3 separate regions of the Homo sapiens genome follow, and all the other regions are linked to region 1. Evidence: promoter capture Hi-C in 16 types of primary human blood cells and fetal thymus (Javierre and others, 2016). All regions are on one chromosome and are shown on one strand. The core of a region is centred on a gene start or on the middle of the fragment in contact, and the rest is flanking DNA. Distances in the headings are between cores, read along the strand shown.

What was found. Contacts are between HindIII fragments. The CHiCAGO score rates a contact against its expected background, and 5 or more counts as called.
Region 2: a contact is called between a fragment that was not itself captured here and the fragment with the promoter of FRMPD4 in region 1, in 1 of 17 cell types (total B cells). The highest score is 5.5, in total B cells.
Region 3: a contact is called between a fragment that was not itself captured here and the fragment with the promoter of FRMPD4 in region 1, in 1 of 17 cell types (naive B cells). The highest score is 5.0, in naive B cells.

What each region holds. Positions count from the first base shown.
Region 1 is chrX:12,137,076-12,139,775 of GRCh38, reverse strand. FRMPD4 (FERM and PDZ domain containing 4) reads right to left here and starts at 1,303. Exons shown (of 17, transcript NM_001368397.1): 1 at 764-1,303. The coding sequence starts at 804. The HindIII fragment of the contact is 1,954 bases long and covers 774-2,700 here.
Region 2 is chrX:12,571,230-12,573,987 of GRCh38, reverse strand. All of the region lies in intron 2 of FRMPD4 (FERM and PDZ domain containing 4), which reads right to left. Among named protein-coding and RNA genes, the nearest start is that of FRMPD4-AS1, 200 kb to the right of the region's middle. The HindIII fragment of the contact is 329 bases long and covers 1,192-1,520 here.
Region 3 is chrX:12,644,555-12,647,254 of GRCh38, reverse strand. The region is part of intron 4 of FRMPD4 (FERM and PDZ domain containing 4); the gene reads right to left. Among named protein-coding and RNA genes, the nearest start is that of PRPS2, 150 kb to the left of the region's middle. The HindIII fragment of the contact is 198 bases long and covers 1,156-1,353 here.

The DNA of each region.
Region 1 (2,700 bases), core at 54-2,553:
TCAAACGAAGACTTTGGAAGCATAAGCAGGGCAGAAGACCTGGAGGAGTGCTCTGGCCAGGCAACACCTAGGCGGCCCAAGCGTGGAAATGTTCCTCTTTTATCAGTACTACCCAAAAATGTCTGAATCGATGATTTAGTTTTAGCTACTGTTTTAACAACATGGCCACTTAGAAGAAAATTTCTAAATCTTTCGAGGCTTAAGAATATAGTTACCCCCCCCCCAAAAAAAAAAAGGCTGAAAGTCTTTCTCTTCTATCTACATGACTTCGCCATCTAGGTTACCGTTGGGAGCACCTGGTCAATCTAGGAGCTGACTTTGTGGAGGTGTGGAGGTGTAATTTAGGAGTTGGGGGAAGGCGGCACTTTTGGTCTTTGCAGCTTGGAAGGCAGGCACCCAAGCTCCAAGCACTTCTGGGTTTCCCTAGCAGTAGCAATTACAACCATCTTCTCTTAGCCCTGAATTATACATGGGACCCCAAACACCGCTGGGGCTTTTCCTTAGGGAAAACAAACTGTCGTGAATGTCGGTGTGTTGGTGAGGGCATGTATGTACCTCTCTGTGTGTGGTCTACACCCGCCGCTACACAAGCCTCAGCAGCCAGTGAGAAATAAGTTGAACGTGGAAGCCCCCGGCCACTTCGTTTGTCTTAAGCCCCGTCGCGCTTTCCAGCTTTTGCCTCTACCCAGCCTCCCGAAAAATAAGGCACCAAGTTGCCCGCGGCAGCGGCCCTGGGTGCAAACGGAACCCGCGCAGCCCCTACCTCGAAAGCTTTGCAATCTTCACAAAGCTGAAGACATCCATGCAGGCAGCTGGGGACCCCCGAGCGCGACAACTCCGTCGCCCCTTCTCACGCCAGCAACAGCAGCCTCCGCAGCCCCATGGCCAAGACCTCAGTGCGCCCGGGGCTCGAGTCGCGGCGACAGCGGGTGGCGGCGGCGGCCGGAGAGAACCTGCACCTGGAGGCGGCGGCTGCTACCCCCCTCCGGCCGCGAGCTGCGTGTGCATCCCCGAGCAGGACCATTGATAGGCACCCGAGGCAGGAAAACTCAATGGAGAGGGAGCCAGGCAGGGCGCAAGAGGCGGGGGCGGGGAGCGCGGCCCGGGTCTCGCGCCCCGCCCCGTGCGCTCTAGCCCCGGGGACTGCCGGGCGTCCAGAGAAAGCGAGGCCTGGGCGAGAGGCGCTGCTCTGGCTTCCCGGCCCTCGGACCCTCGTGCCCCACGCACCGAGGAGCGCAGACGGAGCCGGGAGACGGCAGGCGAGCTGGGCACACGCGCACGCACCCCTCGCAGCACTGCAGCTGCCTCCCTGCCTCCTTCTCCAAGCCGAGTCCCTGCTCCTCTCCCCACCCCCACCCGCCCGGGGGGAGGGGGCACTCTCCTGTCACCCACTGCGTGTGCCTCTAGATCTGAAGGATCTGGTCTAACAGTCTATGGCACACTGGAGAACTGTGAACGCTACCCCTCCCTCCCCAAGCCGAAGGAGAGCCGTGCAACCGCAGGTTGCTCAAAGCCTCGGTTTGCTCCGTAAACAAAACTAGCGTTCGGAAGGAGCAGGGATGATTGAGGTTGGGTCGTTTGTCAAGGGGAAGGGAAGGGAGATGCCAGGCGCAGCGGGCTCGATTCGGGGAGCTCAGAGTTCCCACTGCTTCTCCCGAATCGCTGGGGCGAGACGTGACCACTGGGCTGGCTGGGAAGGTGTGTCTTTGGACAGCAGCACCGCGGGAGTGTCTGCCAAATAAGAACCGGAGGCATTTGCGGGTAGGGGGATGAACACAGCTGCTCCCTCCTCGAGGAGCATAGAGCGGAGGGTCCCAGGAGCCCGTGATGCGGAGGCTAATTCTAACCGGGCTCAGAATCTAAGGAAAGAGAAGGATTAGAATGGGGTCTGCCACGCAGAGCGAGCTGCTTTTGCACACTGAGCCTTGGGTGAAGGGAACAGGGAAGAAAAAAACAAAACAAAACAAAACCTTGCCGGAGAAGCAAAAACACAGAAACATAAACACTCACCTTAGGCAGAGTAAACTCCAAGTTGCAGCCATCTAGAACTCCTCCTAGCCTTCTCTTTTACATAATTACCTTGGATAATCAGCCCTGTTCATTAACTCAGTTCTACCTCCTGGGAGGCTCAGGCTTCATTGGGCCCCTTTTTCTTCTTCCTCTTGAAGTCTCAAGGCCTCTTCTCCACAATCCTTTAAAATTTCCCCCCAGACTGTGAAGGTCAGCTGGCCGCACTAAGTGTGTGCTCTCCCACCGGCAGCGTTCACCTGGCGGCAGGGCCACCGCAAAGAACAGAGAGCACCCCCAGAAATGTTGGAAGATCCAGCCAGTGTTCCAGTCTAGCTCTCCGAGGGGATTAAGAAAGAAATAGGTTTAAAGTTCCCACACTTCTGCTCCTCTCCTGGTCTGTTGTTATATTTAAAGTCTTCAGTATTCAAGCCTAGTACTAAAGCGTTTTTTTTAAGCATTTATTTCAAAAACTGAACATAAAATAAATAGCAATCTGCAAAATCTAAATGACTTAAAACTCAGGCATAAAATTACATGTTTTTGAATACATAGTTATCAGTTTTCCTGCAGCTTCTATTAAACAGGCTAGTTTAATTGCATGAACGCAGTTACTACTCAAGGATCGGAAGGGGCGAGAGGGACCTTGGCTTTTGAACTCTATTGTTTGTAAAATAATTATAGTTTGGGTCT
Region 2 (2,758 bases), core at 107-2,606, 430 kb before region 1:
ATTTTAACATAAGCAACATATTTATAAAATATATGTTCCAAAACAAAATTTAGAAGAGTGGCACTGCTTTACATTAAAAAAAAAATCTTTAATGTCTGGCTCAATAGAAGATAGCTGGATTTTCATATCTGCTTCTGCATTCAGTCTCTTGTGAGATCACACATCCAAAAAACGCCATTGTGTACTTGTGACAGAATGTGAGTGAAAAGGACAACTAACATCTTTGTATTGTGAAAATAGTTTTGACATTCTGGATCTCCTGAATGGATCTTCAGTATTCCCAGAGGTCCCTAGATCACACTTTGAGAATCACTGCTCTAGTATGTCTCTCAACCAGGGAGTTAAGACTATATGGACCCCCGTTAAGTGACAAACTTATAAACGCAAGAGAATATGTACTGGGACTGGAGTCAGGGAAAAAGTGTCTTGAAAAGTGAAATTTTCCTCCATGGCTCCATATTACCACTGTAAATGAATTTAGTCTTTAAGAAGCAATCACAGTTTTGGGGACTTGGTCTCTGAGGAAGTCTCTGGCATGCTGGTCTACCCACTTCACTCTAAGATTCCTTCTACATAGGTCTGGTCTACTTTTTTATCCTTCATTTTGTTCTGAGAGTTTTCAAACTAGAAGAGTTTTTGAGCAGCTATTAACCAGTGACCTAAGAATAAAAGTCAAATTTCCTTTTTAAGTCCTTTTTAATAAGACAGGCAGAGCTCTGTTGTGCTTTAAAGGTACAAAGCCAAAGCACTTGATCAGTGTTCTCTTTGAAAATTTCTTGGACTTGCCCCTCAATTACGTTAAGAACTATTGGGGCTCAGGATACATCAACTCAAAAAATGACTATAGGAGATCAGAATATGTCACCCTTAAATATACTTCTTTAGCATATTTAGAGCTGGCTATTCTGAAAAACTGCAGACATAAGAGTCGCTATGATGAAACTGTCCTTTGGTAAAAATTTTGTAAAAAATTACATCTATAAAGGAAATCTACATTAGTCAAAGTATCTGTGTCAGAAAGAGGGCTGCTTAGAGACAAGTTTTATACCTGAGAGACTTTTTATTTGTACAGCAAGACAAGCTTCATTCACCACACATTTCTTCCTCTCACCTGCCCATGACTTGATGCCACCTCCCCAGAGAAGCCCCAAGCCACTATTCCTTTCTGTAGCTCAGGATGCTATATAAGCTTCAATTACCTGGCTCTTCTTAGACTCTCATATTTTGTGGGACTCCTGTGCGTATGTACATAATTACCTATTTTTTTCTCCTATTAATCTGTCTTATGTCAGTTTAGTTCGTAGTATAGTCAAAGAATGTAGAAGGGTGGAGGGAAGCCATTTTTCCCTCCCTTACTGCATGTAATGGGTAGAAGCCAGAAATGCTGCCTAGCATCCTACAGTGCATAAGATAGACACCCCCATAACAAAAAGCATCTGGCTTCAAATGTCAATAGAGCCATGGCTGAGAAACTCTGCTATTAAAAAATGATTTTATTTTTAATTTTAATCTTACAAGCTTTAGCATGTCTTTTTCTAAAGGCAGCATTTATTTTGCTTTCTTAAAAAGGAACTTAATCATTTCCCCTTTAATTATGCATTTTCAGGAATTTTTAGAACCCTAACATGATTACCTTAATATGTTTATACAGTAGAAGCTCTGGACTTAAAAATGGGTGAGTGAATTATAAGCACAGTTCAATGTAAGTCACAAGAAAGCAGTGTCTTACAGTTATCTGGGAAGCAATGGGTTAATCTAAGCTTTGAAAAGTTAAAAGTAAACCAAATAGCGTTTGTTATTGCAGGAATCATCAGAGGTCTTAAATGTCTAGAACATACTGCAAACCTCCCAAAGCGGTATATAATGCAGGGCATTTTAAAAACAGGGGCTCCTTTCTTAGGGAAACCTTTGGGTAGGAGTATTTTGAATAATAACACACTTGGAGAAACTGTCTTTTTAAGGGAAGGCAAATTGCTTCAGAAATATGCTAAGTGAAAACCCAATTAATCTTATGTTTTCCTTTTCTGTTTTCTTTAATTTAGAAAAAGTTCTCTTTGTTTAAAAGAAATAGAAATAAAATTACTATTATTTTATACTGTTAGCTGCTGACCACATAAAATGACCTTTTTTTGAAGCAAATGAAAGCTTCAGTGACCCCATGTTTAACAGAATGTAGCTTTAGAGCTGGGAAATTTTCAATCAAGTGAACAATAGTAATTAGGATACTCCTTTTCAAAGTCTTCCAAATCTAAGAATATTTATCATATCTTTTAACTATAGACACAATCATTCAGATGGGGATGAGTCAAGAATAGATGCTTTGCTGGAAGGGGAAGAAAGAGGAGGCCACAGGCCTCTAATTGAGCACTCCAGAAAAGCCAGAACATGGCCTGATTATTGCCAATTACAGAGTAGAATTAAAATTTAACATCTACAATTATGGGACAGAATTACTGTTCTGAGCTGTAAGCTCCAATTACTAAGACACAGTTAATCAAGATAGAAAGCCTGAAATGGCTCCTAGGAGAAAGGGGAAACAGGCAGGAAGAGGGAGGGGAAACTGCACCCTTTGTTTAGCTCCCATTAAGCCATTGTCGTGTTGCAGGTCATGTAAATTCACAGTTAACAAAAAAGTACATCCCATACTTCATTTAGTGTGACAAATGTTTAAAAAAATTTTTTTAACTGTTGCCATAGCAACACCTAGCTGCAAATACCATAATATGTTTTATATGTGAGTTAATAAGAATTTTATTGT
Region 3 (2,700 bases), core at 5-2,504, 510 kb before region 1:
CCTGGGATCACGCCCTAGATTATCTATACACACACAAATCCTTGTGTCAGAGTTGGCTTGTGAAGGAACCAAAACTAAGATCAATTAGTCATAGGGAACGTGTTAAGTCATGGAGAAGGAAGAACCAGGTGTCACAGAGAAGCAGGTGCCAGAGGAAATCTGTGTCCTGAGGCCTCACATTTTGAGCGGTTCAAGAATAAAAAGGTGAGAGATTCAGGTGAAATTAACTAAGGGGAGCCTATGTATAACGTTATCCTGGAGCCAGAAGGAGCTGGGGCTCCCAGTTGTTCCTAGGGGTTAGTGGTCATAGCCACTACCTCCCAATTTAGATGTATCAGAATTGGAACAATATAGAGCTTTACCAGGATTGAACATGTATTTGAATATTAACAATAAGGCAATGGTAAAGACCATAAACTATTTTTCCAGTTGGTAACTTTCGTATACATAGAAGGGAAGAGGAGACAAATGTAAACAGAGAAATACTATTTTTAATGTTGGCAAGGAATAGAGATGATATCCCCGAAGAAGCTTCAATTCGAAGACAATGTTTGCAGAGACTGTTTATAAACAGCTACAGGATGGAATATACCTTCTTACTGCAGGTAAAAATTAGGTTAAGGAACGATAGGTACATAGTTCAAACACAGCTATTTTGAAATGGCACCTCAAATCTCAGAAAACCTAGCAATGTTCCAATCCTCTCTGAAAGTTGACAGATTTTCAGTGAACCATGATAAAATTTTCTCTGAGGGAAAGAGGTTAGGGGATTTATACTAAATTTCTGAAGTGTGCCTCCCATGTTTGAATTTAGCCTCAACCTAGAAAAATTATTTATAAATTGATCAATAGTGATACTTTATCCATGGCAAAGCAGAGAGAAATCTCATTTTCCTGTCTATTGGGAAATACTGCTTTGAAGATGAACTTGGGGCACACTAACCCTGCAACTGAATTTTGAGACCTTTCTGTTTTATATTAATAGGACTTACAGTCTGCATTTGGGCTGGCTATATAAAAAAGAAAAATGTTTCACTCATACAAGCTATTCAATTACTACATGAAACATTATATAAAGATTACTTTTCAAAAGTATGTATCCATTGGGGTTAGAAACAAAGGAAAAGCAAGAAAAACAGAATTAGTGGAAAAGCTTCCTTCCTACAGAACCTGAGAACATAGCTTAGACTAATTCCTTATCTATCCTCTAAAATAATAACAGATTGGAGTTTAACACTATCTTTGCCTTTTACTCTTTCTACTCTCAAGGCTATGAAGAACAGGGTTGGTGGAGATCGTGATTTCCGTTTTTAATGTTCCTGTATTTTTCACTCCTGCCATCAAATGGAAGCTTAATCTCATGTCCAAAACTAGAGTTCAGAGTTTCAGAATTGAAAAGGGTGCAAACCAAAATGCATGCGAAAATCTATTTACAAATATGAGCAAATTTTTGTTTCTTAAACTAAGTATTTTTTTCTTGAGTTTCCTTAATGTCCGAGGAAGATTAATTTTCAACTAGGTAAGAGAGGAAAAATGTCCTATAGGGAGGTAAGGGGATAAGAAAAGGCAAATAAAAATTGCATTAAAGAGTGAGAGTTTTGGCCAGGTGCGGTGGCTCACGCCTGTAATCCCAGCACTTTGGGAGGCTGAGGTGGGCAGATCACCTGAGGTCGGAAGCTCGAGACTAGCCTGACCAACATGGAGAAACCCTGTCTCTACTAAAAATACAAAATTAGTCGGGCGTGGTGGTGCATGCCTCCAATCCCAGCTACTCGGGAGGCTGAGGCAGGAGAATCACTTGAACCCGGGAGGTGAAGGTTGTGGTGAGCTGAGATTGTGCCATTACACTCCAGCCTAGGCAACGAGAGTGAGACTCCATCTCAAAAAAAAAAAAAAAAAAAAAAAAAGAGTGAGAGTGTTAAAAACTACCTGATGCATAGTATGAGATACTATGCATGAAAAGCAGTATGAAATAAAATCTAATGAGATCTGAATGAATCATAATATGTTAGGAACAATGGTAAAGGATTAGCAGATAATATTTAATGGGTATGAGACTACTACCGTATGAATATTATTTTGATAATATTGTAAAGTCTTATTTTTCATATTTGATAAATGGTAGCAATATTAAAAATACCATAAGACACAATTATAAAAACACACATTAATGGTTCCTTTAAAAATTCATTTTTCTCTGCCCAAATGAGACCTTAATGGTCTCTTTGAAACTCATGCAATGTATCATCTAAATATGTTTTTAAGCATATCCTCAATAAAACTGTTAGGGGAAGTCTGAAAAGAACAGGTTAAGTAGTCAGTTTGCATAGTTAATAACTCACTCTCGACTTGCTTTGCTGTTATTCACATGCAGTTTCTCCAGGTAAATGAACTGCTGTTCATTTAAAGAAGTGGAAATAAAAGGCTTCCATATAGATCTCCAGAAACTGATTAAATGTGAGTGGTACTTTCAGCTTGAATTTGAAATGTGGCTAGTTAGGTCATCTTTCAGCTTCCAAGTTATGCCAGATTCCAACCTGGGCTGGGTCTGCTGCTTAAGGAGACTTGTGTTGGGGTGGCCTAGAGCTTGACATTCCATTCAGCCTGGGCAGAGTAGTGGGGCTATTCAGAGAAGCCTTTTTCTGCCCTCTTAGCTACCTAGATGGGAAGGTGAACCACAGACATGTGAGGTCTTGCTTC